6 separate regions of the Homo sapiens genome follow, and all the other regions are linked to region 5. Evidence: promoter capture Hi-C in 16 types of primary human blood cells and fetal thymus (Javierre and others, 2016). All regions are on one chromosome and are shown on one strand. Each heading gives the region's core, a stretch centred on a gene start or on the middle of the fragment in contact. The rest is flanking DNA. Distances are from core to core; before and after follow the strand shown. Region 1 holds the start of C19orf12 (chromosome 19 open reading frame 12). Region 2 has its middle 22 kb from the start of CCNE1. Region 3 overlaps ZNF536-AS1 (ZNF536 antisense RNA 1). Region 4 has its middle 5.8 kb from the start of URI1. Region 5 holds the start of ANKRD27 (ankyrin repeat domain 27). Region 6 holds the start of CCNE1 (cyclin E1).

Region 1 (3,225 bases), core at 726-3,225, 3.0 Mb after region 5:
TTGCCTTTAGGAGCATGAGGCACTGTGTGCTCCATCTCTGGGGTTCAGAGTGTGCGGTCATGTTATGCCTGCATTCGTATCAGAATGAGGCCCAGGAGGCTGATGGGTTGCAGATTTGCATGCAATGGCGCGATCTCGGCTCACTGCAACCTCCATCTGCCGGGTCCAAGCGGTTCTCCTGCCTCAACCTCCCGAGTAGCTGGGACTACAGGCTTGCACCAACCATGTCTGGCTCATTTTTCCATGTTTAGTGGAGATGGGGTTTCACCATGTTGCCCAGGCTGGTCTCAAAGTCCTGGCCTCAGGTGATCTGCCCGCCTCGGCCTCCCAAAGTGCTGGGATTACAGGTGTGAGCCACCGCGCTGGGCTGCATGAACCTCTTACATGCTTGCCTTCTCTGGAGGGCCTGGACTTTGAAGCTTCTTTCACTCCCAGCATCTTTCCCTACACAGGCCCTCTTCCCCACTATCTCTGGGGGAGGAGTCTGCAGGCCAGTTCTGCAATGTGCCGCCAGAGGGAGCTGCCCGCAGAGAAACGGGAGCGCCACACTCAGGCCCCAGGAAGGCAGCAAGCTGAGTTCCCCTGGCCTCAGTTCACTTTCCCTCTTGAAAGTCACCCAAACTCAAGCAAAAGCTCCGATTCAGGAATAAATGGGGTTGTTTTATCCCAGCCAAGGCCTGGGGAAGCTTGGTATTAAGAGCGTTTGTTCCATTCTTTTAAAAATGGAAAAGGGTCCGTCCTCTGGGTGCCCATGGCACCCTGGAAAGCAGGCAGAGTGCTGGTCACAGGCGGAGACTTTGAGATACCGAGACCGAGGCTGGAGTTTGGGCCCTGAAACTTTCTAACCAGGATGGCCTTGGGCAGAGCAGCCTGTGTTTAGAGCTTCCCATCTGTAATATAGCAGTGACAACCATGCCTGCTTTGCAGGGTTCCTGTTAGGATTAATTCTCTATAGAGCCCCCCAGAAGCCACTTTTGGATTTGAGATGGTTCAAGGCCAGACCTTGCATGACAAGAGTAGGGACAGCTTTCCACAGGCCTCAATAAAGTAGTATTCCCAGGCAGTTCTGCAACCCCAGCCTCATGCCCTTTGCACCTTCCTAAGAGGCTGCCTTGCCTCAGCTTTGGTCCCCATCCAAGACTCCTAAGAGCAAAGCCAGTTCTTTTCCTTTTTTTTCTTTCTTTAAGAGACGGTCTCACTCTGTCACCCAGGTTGAAGTGCAGTGGTGGGATCATAGTTCACTGCAGCCTCGAACTCCTGGGCTCAAGCAATCCTCCCGCTTCAGCCTCCCAAAATGCTGTAGGTCACAGGTATGACTCACCCACCCGGCCTAATTTTTATTATTATTTGTAGAGATGGGATGTCACTGTGTTGCCCACGCTCGAACTGCTGGGCTCAAGCAATCCTCCCTCCTCAGCCTCACTGGCAGCTGGGATTACGAGTCCCACCCAACCTGCTTCTCCTTTTGCAACCCCCAGACCCAGAGGCTCCAGAGCAGGCTCTGGAACAGAGGAAATCTGGCTCCGGCCCACACATTCACCAAATACTGACGCAGCACCCTTGACCTCCAGATGCCCCTGTGCTCTCTTCTGTGCCCAGGCTGCGGGGAGAGAGGGGTCCTCCAGGCCAAAGGGAGGGAGGTCTCCGGGAGGTCCCCGCGGTCCTGGAGGCAGGTGCGCGGGGCCCGGATGTGATCATGCGTGCGCGTGGGAGAAAGGCAGGGCTGGGCCTGCGGGAGCGCGGCCTTGCGGTTCCCAGGACTCTTCTCCGGGCGCCTCGTCTCCTTACGCCACCCGCAACCCAAGCCAGGGCCCCGGTGACAGCGGCGGGGTGGGCCAGGACCGGGGAGGGGGTGCCCAGCAGCGACCCCCGGCTCCCCCTAAGGCCGGGCGCAGCTCGGAGCCAGGAGCTGGCCCGGCGCGTGGCTTCCCGGAAGGCCCGGCGCAGCCGGAAGGTGGGACGGAGGGCGGGGCCAGCGCCGGGGCCGCCACCAAGGCCTGCGCGACCCTCCGCGGGGCTGGGGAGCTGGGCGGGGAGCCCGGGGCCTGCCAGGCCCGGGCTGCAGCCGCGTCTGATCGCCGAGCGCGCCGCGTAGACCTCCGCTCCCCCAGGTAAAGGAGCGCCCGGAGCCGGGGCGGGGCGCCTCCCAGGCCGCGCCCCGCGAGAGGAGGGGGCACCCCAAGAGCAGGCCTGGAGACCCGGGAGTGCCTTGGGGAGAGGGTCCCCGCCCTGCCGGGAGCCCGGCCCTCCCGGTGCCGGGGTGGACACTGTTAGTGTAGTCATTGTCCCTATGGAGAAACTGAGGCATGGAGAGGCTGAAGTCACACAAGTAAGCAGCAGAGCTGGGACTAGAGTCCCGGGCCCTGGCTCGCTGTCACCCAGGAGTGGCGTAGGCATGGGTGTGGTGGGTGGGGGTGGGGTGCGGGTGGTGGATGTGGTGGGAGTGGGTGAGGTTGGGTGGGGTGGGGATGTGGGTTTGGCGGGGGTGGGGTGCGGAATGTGATGGGTAGGGGTGGGGTAGAGTGGGGGTGGCTGGTGGGGCAGGGGCGGGGCTGGGGGTGGGGTGCTAGGTATTATAAATGTGAAGCGGATCCTGACAGGACACCTGTGGGGCAGCGGAGCTGGGCTGAGCCATATGGGAAGAAAATCTGGGCGCTAGTTTAGATTTGGTCAGGAAGGGTCGTTAATGCTTTAGGAGGTGAGATTAGTTTTGGGGATGGCAGGTAGTTTGTTGAGCTTTTGTTTAGACAGTCTTGCTCTGTTGTCCAGGCTGGAGTGCAATGGCGCGATCTCGGCTCACTGCAACCTCCACCTCCCTCGTTCAAGCAATTCCCCTGCCTCAGCCTCCCTAGTAGCTGGGATTACAGGCGACACCACCAAGCCTGGCTAATTTTTTTGTATTTTTAGTAGAGACGGAGTTTCACCATATCGGCCAGGCTAATCTCAAACTCCTGACCTTGCGATCCACCTGCCTCAGCCTTCTGCAATGCTGGGATTACAGACGTGAGCCACCCCGACCAATTTTTGTATTTTTTAGTAGAGACGGGGTTTCACCATCTTGGAATAGCACCTGTAGTTCCAGCTACTCGGGAGGCCGAGGCGGAAGAATTGCTTGAGGCCAGTTCCCGACCAGCCTAGGCAACACAGGGAGACTGCGTTTCTGGAAAAAACAACAACAACACCAGCAACAACAAAAAGCAGGAAGGAAGGGGAGAGGGAAAGAGA
Region 2 (3,170 bases), core at 668-3,167, 2.8 Mb after region 5:
GTGCATATGCATTTTAAACTACTTAGTGATGATATAACTGAATGAAACCGCCCTGTAGAAAAACAGCAAATATTTTCATTCACTCATGTGTTAGCGTGTGCATTGAAAAGAATTCTAGAGCAATGTACACTGTTTTAACACTCCAACTCTTAAGAACGGCATCTCTGGGGAATCATCAGTTTCTATGTTGTACGTGTTTGTAGTATTCTGATTTATTATAACAAACAAGCTTTACTTTCATAGCCAGAGAAAAACCAATAAAGTTAAATACTAGCAATTTTAATGGGAAGAGAAGTTGACGATACTGAGTACTGGAGCAAGGGTGGAGAGGCAGGAGCTCTCACACTCCCTGGCGGGAAGCGGAGATTGGTGCAGTTTGAGGAAGTCACTGACCACATCTAGTTAAGGTGCACAGGCACACGCCCTTTGACGTGGCAATCCTACATCTAGGAATGTGCCCTAAAGGAATCCAGGTAAGTGGCACCAATGTGCACAAGATGCCAATTGCAACACTGTTTGTGATGGTGAAAAAATCAGAAACCTACTTGTGGACCAGGGTGGCAGGGAGCATATCTATTGTGGAACATTCACACAGGGGAAAATTCTACCACCATTTCAAAAGAATAAACTCAACCCTACGTGGATCAACATAGGTAAATCTTGAAAATAACACTGAGGCCAGGCACGGTGGCTCACACCTGTAATCCCAGCATTTTGGGAGACTGAGGCAAGCAGATCACCTGAGGTAAAGAGTTCGAGGCCAGCCTGGCCAACATAGCAAAACCCCGTCTCCACTAAAAATACAAAAATTAGCTGGGCATGATGGTGGGCACCTGTAGTCCCAGCTACTCAGGAGGCTGAGGCAGGAGAATCACTTGAACCTGGTAGGTGGAGGTTGCAATGAGCTGAGATTGCGCCACTGCACTCCAGCCTAGGCAACAGGGCGAGACTCTATGTCAAAAAAGAAAAAAAAAAAAAAAAGAAAGAAAGAAAGAAAAGAAAATAACATTGAAAGAAAATAGCAAGTGATATTGTGATATGTAAAGTTTGATTCCACTTATTTTCTTTTTTTCTTTTTTTGTTTTTTTACTATTTCTTTTTCTTCCTTCCACCAAATGTAGGTAATTTTTTAAACACCCAAAGCAGTATTTGCTATAAGTCTATTTATTGCTTCTGGATCCAAAAATAAATGGTAAAAGTCTAAAAATATGTATGGGCATCATATACATCCACCTTGGGGAGTTGTTTCAGCTGAGGAGGAACATGAGGGGATCTTCATCTATGTCTACAATATTGTATTTCCTTTTTTAGTTTTTTTCTTTTGACAAACTGCTGCATACTCAAATGTTGTATTTCTTCTTTAAAACATGATATGAAGCCAAGTAGGCAAATATGGATGATGGATCCACAGCTATTCATTTGTATTGTTCTTTGTACTTTAAAATTTTTGCCAACCTGGTGGCTGTGAAATTATCTCATTGTTTTATTTTGCATTTCCCCGATGACTTGCGGATTGAGTCACCTTCATGTTGATTGTGTATTGCCAGTTCCCATTTTTCGTAATAGCATGAACAATGGAAGGTGAAATAAGGAGTTTTTCTAGAAGGTGGTGAAGGGCGCAGGTGGAGGCCCCCTGCAGGCAAGTGGGCATTCAGGTGTGCAGCCAGGGCAGGCCTCATTGGGGTAGAGACCCCCTGCTTGGGTGAGGCCGGCACAGAGGCAGTGGCAAAGTCTTCCAGGTGGTGAGGTTGCCCAGGGACAAATGTCAAGGGGGCGGCGGTGGCCGGGATGAATCTGCGGGTCCTCCACCTTATGCTGGAGCAGAGAGGAGCTGCCTGGGAGGGATGATGCTTGGTGCGTGGGGGCGGGGGGGAGCTGGCACTGAAGTTTCCAGAGGGAAAGAGGGGTCAGCAGAGCGAAGTGTGGCAGAGGTGCCTTGGGAGAGGAAGGCAGACGCATACTGTGAGATTTGTCCCACAGAGGTCTTAGGTGGCCTTGTTGAGGGCACTGTGTGGTGTGGCGACGCCAACTGGAGAGGGTCCAAGAGGGAGTGACAGTGAGTGTAGATGACACTTTCAAAGGGGCTGCCCAGGAAAAGAAGTGGCGGCTGGGTGCGATGGCTCACACCGTAATCCCAACACTTTGGGAGGCTGAGGCAGGCAGATCACTTGACGTCAGGAGTTCGAGACCAGCCTGACCAACATGATGAAACTCCGTCTCTACTAAAAATACAAAAATTAGCTGGGCGCGGTGGTGTGTGCCTATAGTCCCAGCTACGTGGGGGAGAATGGCTTCAACCTGAGAGGTGGAGGTTGGAGTGAGCTGAGATTATGCCACTGCACTCCAGCCTGGGTGACAGAGTGAGACTCCATCTCAAAAAAAAACAAAAAACAAAAAACAGAAGGAAGACAAGTTGGGAAGTTGGGAGAGGGAGGGGGGTGGAAGCCTGGAGAAGACACAGGGGCGGGCCCAAGGGGAGAGGCTAAGGAGGCTAAGGGCTCGCTTGCACAAGCTCCCAGGCATTCCTGGAGTCCTCACTGCTGTGCCCTGGGCTGCGCAAGGCACACAGGGCAGCCGGTAAGTCCCCACCTCAGTGCCCTACCAGGGCTGTCTGTAGGGCTAGAACACGTCCCCAGTGCTAAACTCAGCCGGGCACAGTGGCTCACGCCTGTAGCCACAGCATTTTGGGTGGCCAAGGCGGGAGGACCACTGGAGGCCAGGAGTTCAAGGCGTGCCTGGGCCACATAGTGAGATTCCCCCATCTCTACAAAAAAAACTTAAAACTAGTAGGGCATGGTGGTGTGCACCTGTAGTCCCAGCTACTCTGGAAGCTGAGGCGGGAGGATCTCTTGGGTCTAGGAGGTCGAGGCTGCAGTGAGCTATGATTGTGCCACGGCACTCCAACCTGATGACAGAGCAAGACCCTCTCTCTTAAAAAAGAAAATGCTTGGCCAGGCATGGTGGCTTATGCCTGTAATCCCATCACTTTGGGAGGCTGAGGTGGGCGGATCACCTAAGGTCAGGAGTTCGAGCCCAGCCTGGCCAACATGGCGAAACCCCGTTCTCTATTAAAAATACAAAAATTGCCCGGCGCGGTGGCTCACGCCTGTAATCCCAGCACTTTGGGAGGCTGAGGCGGGTGGATCACGAGGTCAGGAGATCGAGACCAT
Region 3 (3,118 bases), core at 538-3,037, 2.0 Mb after region 5:
CAGGACTCAGCCATCACAAATGCCAGTGGTCCTTGGAACACGTCTGCCCGGCTGAGCCTGCCAGATGCCCAGTTTAGGGAAGCGCGTGAGGAACAGAAATGGAGGAGACCCGACCAGACAAGAGGCAGTCTACCCAGCTGCAGGTCGTGTCATTTCCTCTCCAAAAACAGACAGGGAGCGCCAGCCGCCTGTGCATCGCCCCACTGTGGCATTGGGACAATTGCTCCTGCTGTCCCCTTCCCTCCAGGAATGATCTAGCTGGGCTCTAGGAAGCCTCCAGGACTGCCACATTCATAGTTCCAGGGGCAGGGGCCACCATGAGCACAATGCACCCAGGCGTGTGAGGGGGTCCCCCGACAACCCTTGCCCCCGCTGCCCACTCAGAGACCACCCTCGCTGAGCTGCTCCTCCGTGGCCTGGCCCTTCTAAACCTCTGGCTCCTTCTTCTGGGCATTTGGGGTATGGGATCCCTTTCCTAATTAACCAGAAACGCCCCAACCAGGCTTGGGCACACAGGTGGTCCTCAGGAATCGGAGCTGGCTTAGAGAAGGTGGAATGAGTTGGGAGCTCCTGTGATCACAGCAACAAACGACTTTTCCACCAGCCAAGAACTGGGCACCTCCCACGCGGCCCCTTCACATGGCCTCGAAGTGGGTGTGGCAAATATGACCCGCCTTATAGAGGAGACCTACACCGAGCCCCCAGGGAGCCATCAGCAGAGAGAGGCAGCGCAGAGGCTGGAGCCGACTTCCCCTCACCACAGATCTGGGTCAACTCTAAGGTAACAAACTTTGGTGGCTCCATCTTCACGGGTACCTGGGAGAGGCATAACAAGGGTCCCTCCTCAGTGTCCTTTGGGACTGCAGGGACCCTCAAATTGGCCGCCAAGATCCTGAGCTTTTAAGCTCCCAGAAGGCGCCCCCACACAAAAACTCAGACACACCAGGAAGCAACTGTAGCCTGGCCTGGGACAGGGTTAGCAGTGTATTAGGCAGAAAATTCTAGAAGGGGCCCCTGATTGGCCCAGGGATGCAGGACCTGTCCTAGCAAGCAAAAGAAAGTCAATCACACCCCCTCCCCTCAAACTCAAGGTCAGGAGCCCCCACTGTGGAATCTCTACATGGTGTAGAGTCTCCAGGGCAAATAAATATCTTAATTTTGCAAAAATTTATTTCCTGGAGAGAGAGAAAATGTGGCCAAGACCATCATCATGAACTAAAAATTTTTTTTCTAATATTACATTTAACATCCAAGAAGAATCCAGATAACTTGGAGCAGTTAGCACTTCTGAAGGGCACTCCAGTTATTTTAGAGCCAATTACATGCCATTTCGATAGAATTCCTTGAAAGGATAGTGCCCTGAGGACCTGGCTTCAAATCTAGCCCTGCCAATTACCAGCTGTGTGACCTTAGACAAGTTACTTAACCTCTCTGAGCCTGCGTTTCCCCATCGATGAAATGAGGCTAATAACAATGTATACCTTATAGGGTTTGACCTTCACAGCATAGTTCTTAGCACATTGCAAGCACTCAGGACATGCTGAGTGTATACTAACACTACTGCTCTGCTATTGTTATCTAGTACTGTAGTAAATAGGCTGGGAGCTGTTCATGTACTCTATATCCAAGACAACCTGACATGCTCTGGGCTTCCAGAGCAGGTAGGTCTTCATTTACTCTGGGAATCTGAAAAGGTGAGATTACCTCACTTCTCATTAATTAAAAAAAAAAAAAAAGCTAGAAAAAACTCTAGCTGAGAGAGTCTTCTGACATTGTTTTATACACAGTCATGGTCAGTCCCTTCAATTAACCTTGATCCAGGCCATTGGGGACACTTCGGCATTTCAGGTCTCCTAACCACCCACCTTCCCACTCACAGGCAGCTTCGGCATGGGGGAGGCCTCCCGGATGGACACAGAAAGCAGCTAACGCACACAGAGGGAGAGGCTGATAGCGTGGGAGGGTGCAGGTGCCCCCTCCCTGCACCCAAGGGCCAACCAGGCACTAACCCAGCTTTTCCACCAGGCAAGCCTGTGTGCAAGTCACCCCTGTTCTGCTACTGGGACAGGCGATTGCTCCTCTGAGCCTCAGTTTCCCCTTCTGTAAGCTGGGGATAATTACACCTGTTCAGGCGTGTAAATGAATTCAGATGGAGACAGTACCTGGTGCTCGGGAGGTCTACAGCACACAGCATGTGTTCAGTCATTAGTCCTCGGTGCTGTGCTACTGCGAGATGCTAACGAGGTTAGTTTAGACAAGAGGGCCCAGCTTACAGCACAGTTTGCATTCCTGGGAAAATTGGGTAGGGCAAGAGCTTACACCAAGGTAGGCCTGAGAACAGCTGCCCCAAGGGTCAGGCGATACTCAGCACCTTCCCCTGTGGCCCAGGAGACATGAGCCCAGGGTTACCACAACTTCTGACTTTTCCAGAAATTGCCTGATATGCTCTGTAAAATATCCTGGATTTTCAATGTGAATAAGTCTTTTAAAATATGCATACATACATACATACATATATATATATATATACACACACACACATATATACACATACATATATTTTACATATATATTTTTGAATATATATATTTTGTGTGTATATTTATATTATATATATACACACAGAGAAAACAAATAAAGCAATTAAAAGGTATTTCTGGGTCCCAGCTCTGAGGCAAGGGAAACTAGATCCGCGAGGTTTCCAGCTCCCGCCTTACCCCATGTGTGGGCTTCTGAGGATTCTGCTACCCCCAGAGCCCGGAGCTGTTCCTAGAACACCCCACCTTGAGGCTCAGAAAGCCCCCTCTCAAAGCCTAAACAGTAATAGAAATGTGGGTTCCACTTCTGTGCAGAGGCCGCCATCTACTGGTGGAAGGACGTGAGTGCAGCCAGTGCCTGCCGGGATCCCCAGCAGAGGATGGGAGGAGAGGGGAGAAAAGAGAGGAGGGAGTGGAAGGGAGGGAGGAGGCAGGGAAAGGGAGGGAGAAAAGAAGAGCGGACAGGAGGGAACGTGTCGGACCCGGCCAGCTTCTGATGTGAGAAGGAACCCAGCAGCAGGGCCTGAGCCACCTCATCAAAGATGAGAAGCAGCTCAAGCATCCTGAGTGATGGGAGACTG
Region 4 (3,024 bases), core at 239-2,738, 2.7 Mb after region 5:
CCAGGGGAGTTCTTGATGAAAAAAGAGGCTGCTGGTTGTTGGTAAGAGAACAGCAACAGGGTGGATGCAAAACAGCTGCCATGCCCCATTTCTCAGCCCTCACCCTACCATGAGGCTGCAGGAATAGCTTTCCTGGAATGGCTGGCTGGTTGCAAGGTGGGCAAGATGACCCTTGTCCTCCAAAAATTGGGGCATTTTTGAGTCCTGAGGGATTAGCACAGACTCCTGTATTGGTTTCAGCCCTCTTGTGCTTCCTATGGCAGCATCCATCAGGAGATTTGAAAGTAAAGAACACCTTTTTGTAGCCAGAAATTTACAGATATCATTTCCAGGTCACTGGTTGCCTGTAAAGATTATGAAACAAAAACATCAGTAACCACATGCAATAAGGACTACACACTTTGCAAACATAGTTTGGAAAAGTCTCTAAACAAACAGATGGCTGCAACCCTCAACAAGCAAAAATCAGCAATCCCTGAAGAGGAGGAGAATCTGATTTTCAGAGTTACTACAATAATACCCAAAATGCCAAGTGCTCAACAAAATATTACAAAGCATACAAAGAAAAAGGAAAGTATAGCCTATTCACAGGGGGAAAAAAAGAATTCAATAGAAGCCATCCCCAAGGAAGCCTTTACATTGGAAACATTAGTCAAAGACATTAAATCAACTGTCTTACACCCAATGAGCTAAAGGAAACCAAAATAATATATGAACAAATAGGGAAGGCCAATGAAGAGATAGTTTAATCTTATAAAAAGGAACAAAATAGAAATCCTGGAGCCGAAAAGTACAATAGCTTGAACTTAGAAATTCACTAGAGAGATCAAAAAGCTGATCTGAAGAATCAGGAAGAAGAAAGAACCAGTGAACTTGAAGATAAGGCAATTGAAATTGTCCAGTTGTAAAGAGAGAAAAATAAATAACGAAAAATAGGCTGGCCATGGTGGCTCATGCCTGTAATCCCAGCACTTTGGGAGGCCGAGGAGGGTGGATCACTTGAATTCAGGAGTTTGAGATCAGCCTGGCCAACATGGTGAAACCCCATCTCTACTAAAATACAAAAATTAGCCAGGCATTGTGACGCGCACCTGTAACCCTAGCTGCTGGGGAGGCTGAGGCCAGAGAATCACTTGAATCAAGAAGGAGGAGGTTGCAGTGAGCCAAGATCATGCCACTGCACTCCAGCCTGGGCAATAGAGTGAGACTCTATCTCAAAAAAAAGAAAAGGAAAAATGAACAGAGCCTGATAGATCCATGTGATGCCATCAAGCATATATCAACATATGCATAGTAGAAGTTCCTGAAGGAGAAGAGGAACAGGAAGGGACAGAAAAAGAAATTTGAAGAAATAATGGCTGAAAACTTCCCAAATTTGATGAAGGATATGAACATACACGTCCAAGAAGCTTAACAAATTACAAGCGCGAGAAACTCAGAGATTCATACTGAAACTCACAGCCAGATTGTCAAAAATCAGAAACAAAAAGAGAATCTTGAAAGCAGCAAGAGAGGAACAACTTGTAAGGTACAAGGAGTCCTCAGTAACATTAATAGCTAAGCTTTCATCAGAAACCATAGAGGGGCTGGGTGCAGTGGCTCAGGCCTGTAATTCCAGCACTTTGGGAGGCCGAGGTGGGCAGATCGCCTGAGGTCAGGAGTTCGAGACCAGCCTGACCAATATGGCGAAACCCCATTCTACTAAAAATACAAAAATTAGCCAGATGCGGTGGTGGGCACCTGTAATCCTATCTACTTGGGAGGCTGAGGCTGGAGAATTGCTTGAACCTGGGAAGTGGAGGTTTCAGTGAGCCAAGATTGCACCACTGCACTCCAGCCTGGGCACAAGAGCAAAACTCTAAAAAAGCAAAACTCCATCTCAAAAAAAAATTTTTTTTAAGTGCCGGGCACAGTGGCTCACGCCTATAATCCCAGCACTTTGGGAGGCCAAGGCAGGTGGATCATGAGGTCAGGCATTCTAGACCAGCCTGGTCAACATAGTGAAACCCTGTCTCTACTAAAAATACAAAAAACTAGCCAGGCGTGGTGGCGGGTGCCTGTAGTCCCAGCTACTTGGGAGACTGAGGCAGGAGAATTGCTTGAACCTGGAAGGCAGAGGTTGCAGTGAGCCAAGACGGCACCATTTCACTCCAGCCTGGATGACAGTGTGAGACTCCATCTCAAAAAAAAAGAAAAGAGAAAAGAAAAGAAAAGAAAAGAAAAGGAACCAGAGGCCCAGAGGCAGTGGAATAACACAGTTAAAGTCCTGGGGAAAAAAAAAAAAAAGACTGTCAACCAAGAATTTCCTACCAGACAAACTATCCTTCAGGAATAAAGGAGAAATTAAGACATTTTCAGATAAATAAACGCAGAGAAAGCTCATTGCTAGTAGCCCTGCTCTACAAGAGCTGCTAAAATGAATCCATCAGGCTGAAATGAAAGGAAACTTGATAGTAATTCAAAGCCATGATGAGAAAAAAAAAGAACACTGATAAAAATAGTAACTACATACATCAGTAAATATAAAAGCCAGTATTATTGTAGGTTTTGTTCATAATACTTTGTTTTTCACCTATCATTTAAAGGGCAAATGCATGAAACAATAATTATAAATCTATGTTAATGGGCACAGAATGTATAAAGATATGATCTGGGACAATAATAATATAAAGAGGGAGGGAAAGAGATGTATAGGAGCAAAGTATTTGTATACTCTTAAAACTAAGTTAGTATTATTCAAATTAGGGTGTTATAAATTTAAGATGCTAATTGTGATCCCCAAGGCAACCGCTAAGAAAATAACTAAAAAATATACAGACAGGGAAAGAAAAAAGGAATCAAAATGATACACTAAAATCTATTAAATACCAAAAAAATGTAGTAGTGGAGGAATTGAGGAACAAAATTTAAAAAATGTACAGAAAAGCAAATAGCTATTAAATAAATGGCAGAATTAAATCCTTTATTGGTAATTACTTTAAATGTAAATGGACTAAACTGTCTAATTAAAGGGCAGAGATTGAT
Region 5 (3,198 bases), core at 606-3,105:
CACCCATCCCGAGTCTTTTCTCAGGGGAGGGAGCGGCAGCAGCAGGCGGCCGTCGGGTGTCCGTCAGCTCAGCTTCGCCACGCACACGGCTAGGGCCACAGCCGCCAGCAGCACGGCGCCGAAAAGGATGGCGGCCAGGGCCTTCCTGGGGTCGCAACCCCCCCCGCGCTCCTGCAAGGACACGACCGAGGAGGGGCCGGCGCTGACCGTGGACAGGAGCTCGGCGCCCGCCGCCTGCCGGGCTTGCACGGTCCAGCGGGGCACGTTGACCTTCATCTCCATGTTGTCGATCATCTCGCCCACCTGAAGGACCTCGCGCTCCAGCTCCCGCAGGTCCGCGACGTCGAAGTCGCCCTCCGCCTCGAGCCGCAGGCTGCGGGTGCTCAGCGCGCGCGCCGCCACGCCGGAGGAGGCGCCAGCCACACCTGTGCGCACCAGCGGCCGCCGCGGCGCGTGCAGCGGGAACGCGGCGCCCAGCTCCAGCGCGCGTCGCATGTCCGCTTCCAGCAGGTCCAGGCAGCCCGAGAAGGCCACCCAGAGCCGCTCGAACTCGGCGCGCTCGTCGGCGGCCAGGCCCCGGTCGCGCAGCACAGCAGTCAGCCGGGCGCAGGTGGACACCGCCAGCTCCTGCGCCTTCTGGCGCGTCTTTTGCAGCTCCTGCCGCAGGTTCTGCGAGTCCGCCGAGCCACCGACGGTCAGCACCAGGTGGTGGTAGCACGCAGTCGTCTTGTTGAGCCCGTCCAGCAGCGCCTTGCACTCCTCCCTCGCCATCGCGGTGGGCTCCGGCTGGGCCCGGCCGCCCGCGCCCGTTAGCCTCCCCCTCAGCGCGGCAGGATGTGGCTAACCCCCATCCCGGCCTTGGGCCGCGCGGCACGAACGCTCTTCATGGTCCGTGACTCGCTCGGCGCTACCGCCAACGTCCACGGAGCCCGCCCGGGACCCTCGACGTGCGCCTCTGCGGACGGGGCGCGCAGAGGGAGCCCCGTTAGCGGTCCCCCGCTCCCTCGTCCATCCTCCCCAGGCGCACTCCGAGTCACACGTCGTGTCTCTGCACCGCCCTGGCCTCCACGGTGGCTCCCTGCGAAGCTGAGGGTGCGGTCCCCATCCTCCGTGGGTGCCAACTCCGGGGCAAGCAGGCTGCAGAGCCGCGCGCTCCGCCTTAGGCGCTGCCAAGGGCGGCCGGGTAGGGTTTCCTAGGACCCGCCCACCCCGCTCGTCCCGGCCGGAGCTGCCACCCCCTGGATCAGTGGTAGGCGGGGCTCCACGCGGGGAGGTCACGTGTGGGTGGCCCATCCCTCCCTCCCCTTCGCCCCATCCGAGTTCTGGAATGTTAGCGCTCGGGAGATCCAACCCGTTCTATTTTACGGATGGGGAAACTGAGGCCCAGGTAAAAAGCGGGCCAGGCTCCCGCGGAGTTTTTGCCTGTGATGGGACTAGAACCCAGCTATACTGACTCCCGGACCCTGTCGGCGACAGGACGTCGGGTGCCCCGCAGGACTGGGCACCTCCGTGCCCCAAAGCGAGCAGTGACTGGCAATCCGAGGGGCTGGGCGCCGCCGGGGTCAGGTGTCCCTGCCGCGTTGCGCTCACGTTGGTCGGTGCTTCCAAGCGCTAACCCCACCTCTAGTGTCAGCCCGGCTCCCAGCCCCGCCCCTCACGTTCTGGGCACGCGCAGTTGCGGGCGTGGGGCGGGGCCAGCTGGAGTAGGAAGCGTAGGGAGCCGCCTGAGCCCCGCCCCCGGCTGGGCTGGACTCCATGATTGCTCTGCGTACACGTCACTCTGGGAAACGACGGTTTCTCATTGGGTCAGCTGTGGCGCGGCTCCGCCCCACGGCGGAGTAAGGGGTGGGCTATAGGGCCAGATCGCCGCGCGAGGGTGGTGGGCATCGAGGTCCCAGCAGCGGACGAGGGAGGTGCCGCCGTCGCCCAGGATGGGCTGGGAATGAAGCGATGTAGCCTTTTAAGTAAGTGTCCTCGCGCTGGCCTCCTCCTGCGCCTCCCCTCCCGCGGGATGGCTGCGCCTCGGGGCGCGGCGGCCGGGCGGGGCCCGGAGAGTGAGGGGGGAGGGGCTCCCTGCTCTCCGGAGTCCGCTCCCGGGTCCGCCAGGTGGCCCCGCGCCGCCCCAGCCCCCGCGTCCCCAGGTGGGTGCCCGGTGCGCAGCCGGCGCGCCCTGCCCACTCCGCCCCTCGGGTCTGGAGGAGGGGAGCGGTCGGCGCGGAGAATGCACCCTCCGAGCCTCGCTGCGTCGACACCGGCGGGTGTGGCCGGGGTGCCGGGTCCGGCGGTTCGGATCTGGCGGGGCGCGGGGCGGTCGCCGCGCGGTTTCCCGGAGGCCTAGGGTCTGCTGGAGGGGAGCGGCGGGTGGGGGTCCGAGCCGCGCGCGCAGCGGTTGTGGTTTCCGGGGGGTGATGAGGGCGCGGAGCGGGGAATCCCTGGCTGCCGGCCTCTCGCAGGGCGGGGGGGTCTCTGCATTCCCACAGGTAAAGATTGTTAAAGGAAAACTCTTAAGCACCGAGAGATGTTCCGGATTCTGAGTCTGTTCCGTCTTGTGGTTGAAAATGGACTGCCCAGGAGCACACGAGCCACGCGGTGCCCCCTTGGCTGCCCCACGAGGTGCAGGGGACGTGGGCACTCGCGGCCTGTGCTGGGCGAGGGAGCAAGGGACGGGTCTTCGCTGAGGATTTAGAGCATGCAGGGAACGAGGGCTGCTGGCAGTGCTGGAGGGACTGTGAGGCTGCAGAGAGCTCAGATTTTACAAGTTGATGGGTTTCATGGATAGAGGCCCCTATTTTGATTAAAAAATGCACTCTTCCCACTGGCCGAAGAGTAGAGCAGTGGATATTTTTTTTCTTTTCTTTCTTTTCGTTTTTTTCTTTTTGAGACAGGGTCTGGCTCTGTTGGCTAGTCTGGAGTGCAGTGATGCCATCATAGCTCATTGCAGCCTCAAACTCCTGGACTCAAGCAATCCTTTCACCTCAGCCTCTGTAGTAGCTGGGACTACAGGCGCATGCCACTATGCACGGCTAATTTTTAATTTTTTTTTTTTTTTTTTGTAGAGATGGAGTCTAGCAGGTTGCCTAGGCTGGTCTTGAACTCCTGGACTCAAGCCATGCTCTCGTCTTGGCCTCCCAAGGTGTTGGGATTACAGGCACTAGCCACCACGTTTTGCTGAGCAGTAGCTGTTACGTTTCGAGATCA
Region 6 (3,051 bases), core at 494-2,993, 2.9 Mb after region 5:
GGAAATTTGGCAGGAACTCCTTAAGGAGAGAAAAGAAAAGCAGTCAAAAAAAAATGTATTGAGACACCACCTATCATTACACTGAATGTTCCACTGATACTCTTGCTGAGGTCAGGCTGAGCTGGGGATCAATGCAGGTAATTGCTGGAGGGGCTATAAGAACTTCCAGGGCCAGAAAGAGGAGAAGAATTTGAAATCTGACCTACAGAAGACGGAGGAGGTCCTTAAACACCATGACAAGAAAAATAGGTGTAGATAGGGGGAAAGTTGTTGCTTATAAACACCCAGGAACCCTCCCCCAGTTCACCAGCTTTTACAGACAAGGCCGAGAGCCCAACTTTGCCCCTGGATGGCACAGGACTCTGGGTTACTTTCTTCCTCTAACTGAGTCTCAGTTTCCTCCTGGGCAGAAGGGGAGGACTGAATACTGTGATGTCCATTCTGGTTCTTCCAGGCTAGGCACATATCTGTAATCTCAGACGGTGCCAGTCAGGAACACCAAGCTTCCTGGAATCCCAGGACTGGCAGAGGCCAGTGCCCACTGACAGGTACAGTGCTGGGCCATATGGGCTGTGGCTGCATTAGAGAAGTTCACTCTCACCAGAGTGTCTCCAGCAAGAGACAAGACAGCATGAAACCCCATGTGACCCAGGGGGAGAAGGACCTCCACAGAGGCCCAACCCCGGGCGGACCTACCTGGCTCCCACACTGGTCCCTCGCCGTCCTGTCGATTTTGGCCATTTCTTCATCTGGATCCTGCAAAAACTAACATGAAGCCACCCCCATGACCCCAAGGAAACACACCAAACAAGACAAAAACAGAGAGAAGAAGAGAAAGCTGATCAGGTTATGAGCTCCGTTCCTGCCCAAGGGACCCCCGCCCCCGTAGGCAGAGCCAAGTCGGGTACCCAGGTGAGATGGGGGGGATGCTCCCCAACCTGTCTCTTTTGTACTCACAACGGTCACGTTTGCCTTCCTCTTCCTGGAGCGAGCCGAGAACTCCGCGCCGCCGTCCTCCTTCATGGTGTCCCGCTCCTTCGCATCCCTGTGGACCCGGGTGGCACCGGGCCGGGTGAGCACCCGCGGCCGCCCCTCCCCCACGCCACCCGTCCCGTCCCGTCCCGTCCCGTCCGGCCCCGCGGCGCGGGCACTCACCGCTCCCTGCGCTCCCTCGGCATGATGGGGCTGCTCCGGCCTGAGGCCTGCGGGGCGGCGCGGGGTGAGGCGGCGGCGGGGTCAGGCCGCGGGCCCAGTACCCCTTCCCCCTTTGCGCGCGGGCGGCCGGGCGAGCCAGGAAGATGGCCGATGGCGGGGTGGCCTGTCACCCGCGACCCGGGCACCCGCCGACCCCCGACCCGGGGTCCCGCCGCCCCCGCCGCCCTCACCGGCCCGTCGCCTCCCGGGGCCCGGGCTGCCTCAGTGTCCCCTCCACCCCACCCCGCCGCGCTCTCAGCACCCTCCCGGGCGCCCCGCGACGCCGCCCGGGGACCCGCGACCCGGCCGCACCCCGCCCCCACCCAGCTCCCCGGCGCGGTCTGGGCCCCAGGAGTCCCTGTCCGCAGCCCGCGGCAGTAGACTCACCAGGGTCTTGTCCGCGGCGGACGGCGCGCTCCAGTCCCGGCAGGCGGCGGCGGCGACGGCAGTGGCGGCGGCGGCGCCGGGAGTCGGCGGGCCGAGCGCGCGGCGGTGGCGGGATCCGCGCCTGCCCCCTACACCGCGCTGGCGGCCGCGCCGGCTGCTCCTGCGCCCGGCTCAGAGCGGGACATTTAAAATCCCTGCGCGCGGAACCGGCCCCGGCCCGCCCTCGCACCGCCCCGCCGCGGCTCCCAGCCCCTCAGCGGCCGCGCGGGACCCAGAGCCCGTCCCGCCCCGTCCCTCGCCCCGCCCCCGGACCCGCCCCTCCACGGCGCCGGCCCGCGAGGCGCAGGGACGGGGAATCAGGGGCGGGGCCGGCGGACAGGGCGGGGCCAAGTGACAGGGCCTGCGCGCCGAGGGCCGGGCGCGGGGCGCGGGGCGCGGGACGCGGGGCGGGGCGGCGGGCGGGACGCGGGAGAAGTCTGGCGCGCGGCGGCGAGGGGCGGGCCGCGGGCGCCGGGGGCGGGGCCGAGCGGCGCTGGAGCGGCAAAAAGCCGCGTGGCTGGCGCGGGTGGAATGTAAACACGGCGGGCGGCGCGGGTTCGGGCCCCGGCAGGGCTGAGCCAAGGGGATGTGTGGGGGGCCTACCCGAGGAGCACCGCCCGCCGTTCCTCCGCGCGCGCTGTCCCGCCAGGCACGCCCTCCCCGCCCCCGAGACGCCGAGTTCCGGGCCCTGAGTCCTGGGCGGGGACATCCCCAAGGTCACCGCGCCTGTGCCTTGGCCTAGAACCAAGGCTTCAGGCCGCGGGGTCTGGGGCTCCCTGGGGGCCGGCTGCTATTCCTGGCCGCCTGTCCATTCATCCGTCAGTGCATTGGGTCGTTCATTCATTCATTCAAGGAATCTGTGAGTTCCTTCCATGCGCCCCTTCCATATGCGCCCCTCCCCCGCAAGCCCTTCCTGGCTCTCTGAAGACCTTTCTGACTCTGGGATTCCCTTGCACCCCATCTCTCACTTAAAGCCTTCCAGTTGAGGCCGGGCGCGGTGGCTCACGCCTTTAATCCCAGCATTGTGGGAGGCCGAGACGGCTGATCCCTTGGGGTGTTCGAGACCAGCCTGGGTAACAGTGAGACCCCCATTTCTACAGAAAAAGAAACAAAAAGCCTTCCAGTTGTTTCGCATAAGGGTCAAATCCACACTCCGTGTCCTAGGCTACAGGCTCCACAGGACCTGACCCTGATCCCCCACCCTCAGACCTCAGGCCTCCTCTCCACAGCTCCTCTGTCCTTTCTCCCTCAAGACTTGTATTTTTTATTGTGGCGGGGGGTGGGGGGTGGCAGGTAGGGATAGGGTCTTGCTATGTTGCTCAGGCTGGTCTCAAACCCATGAGCTCAAGCGATCCTCCCGCCTTGGCCTCCCAAAGTGCTGGGAGCCCAGCCCCTACACAGTCTTGGTGCCTCTCTGTTTCTTGTCTCTCT

Evidence for each region. The method cuts DNA at HindIII sites, captures the fragments that hold promoters and counts their contacts. A CHiCAGO score of 5 or more calls a contact.
Region 1: the fragment with the promoter of C19orf12 here is called in contact with the fragment with the promoter of ANKRD27 in region 5 in 3 of 17 cell types (activated CD4 T cells, monocytes and M0 macrophages); the score reaches 6.1 in activated CD4 T cells.
Region 2: a contact is called between a fragment that was not itself captured here and the fragment with the promoter of ANKRD27 in region 5, in 1 of 17 cell types (activated CD4 T cells). The highest score is 5.8, in activated CD4 T cells.
Region 3: a contact is called between a fragment that was not itself captured here and the fragment with the promoter of ANKRD27 in region 5, in 1 of 17 cell types (endothelial precursors). The highest score is 5.2, in endothelial precursors.
Region 4: a contact is called between a fragment that was not itself captured here and the fragment with the promoter of ANKRD27 in region 5, in 2 of 17 cell types (naive B cells and fetal thymus). The highest score is 8.2, in naive B cells.
Region 6: a contact is called between the fragment with the promoter of CCNE1 here and the fragment with the promoter of ANKRD27 in region 5, in 1 of 17 cell types (neutrophils). The highest score is 6.1, in neutrophils.

What each region holds. Positions count from the first base shown.
Region 1 is chr19:29,714,011-29,717,235 of GRCh38, reverse strand. C19orf12 (chromosome 19 open reading frame 12) reads left to right here and starts at 1,975. Exons shown (of 3, transcript NM_031448.6): 1 at 1,975-2,111. RefSeq lists enhancers at 616-835, 1,381-1,480 and a silencer at 1,651-2,440. The HindIII fragment of the contact is 2,629 bases long and covers 689-3,225 here.
Region 2 is chr19:29,832,392-29,835,561 of GRCh38, reverse strand. No RefSeq gene overlaps it. Among named protein-coding and RNA genes, the nearest start is that of CCNE1, 22 kb to the right of the region's middle. The HindIII fragment of the contact is 3,371 bases long and covers 232-3,170 here.
Region 3 is chr19:30,666,244-30,669,361 of GRCh38, reverse strand. ZNF536-AS1 (ZNF536 antisense RNA 1) reads left to right here. Exons shown (of 2, transcript XR_007067216.1): 1 at 1-781. It also overlaps a transcript of ZNF536 not described here. Among named protein-coding and RNA genes, the nearest start is that of ZNF536-AS1, 2.4 kb to the left of the region's middle. The HindIII fragment of the contact is 4,204 bases long and covers 1-3,118 here.
Region 4 is chr19:29,934,963-29,937,986 of GRCh38, reverse strand. It overlaps a transcript of URI1 not described here. Among named protein-coding and RNA genes, the nearest start is that of URI1, 5.8 kb to the left of the region's middle. The HindIII fragment of the contact is 153 bases long and covers 1,412-1,564 here.
Region 5 is chr19:32,673,837-32,677,034 of GRCh38, reverse strand. ANKRD27 (ankyrin repeat domain 27) reads left to right here and starts at 1,855. Exons shown (of 29, transcript NM_032139.3): 1 at 1,855-1,964. It overlaps RGS9BP (regulator of G protein signaling 9 binding protein), which reads right to left and starts at 1,187. Exons shown (of 1, transcript NM_207391.3): 1 at 1-1,187. The coding sequence starts at 771. The coding sequence ends at 64. RefSeq lists enhancers at 491-540, 1,311-1,420, 1,308-1,927 and silencers at 941-1,000, 1,571-2,300, 2,321-2,370. The HindIII fragment of the contact is 4,511 bases long and covers 1-3,198 here.
Region 6 is chr19:29,810,683-29,813,733 of GRCh38, reverse strand. It overlaps CCNE1 (cyclin E1), which reads right to left and starts at 1,743. Exons shown (of 12, transcript NM_001238.4): 1 at 1,582-1,743; 2 at 1,156-1,202; 3 at 958-1,045; 4 at 697-765. The coding sequence starts at 1,178. RefSeq lists a silencer at 1,660-2,289. The HindIII fragment of the contact is 7,130 bases long and covers 506-3,051 here.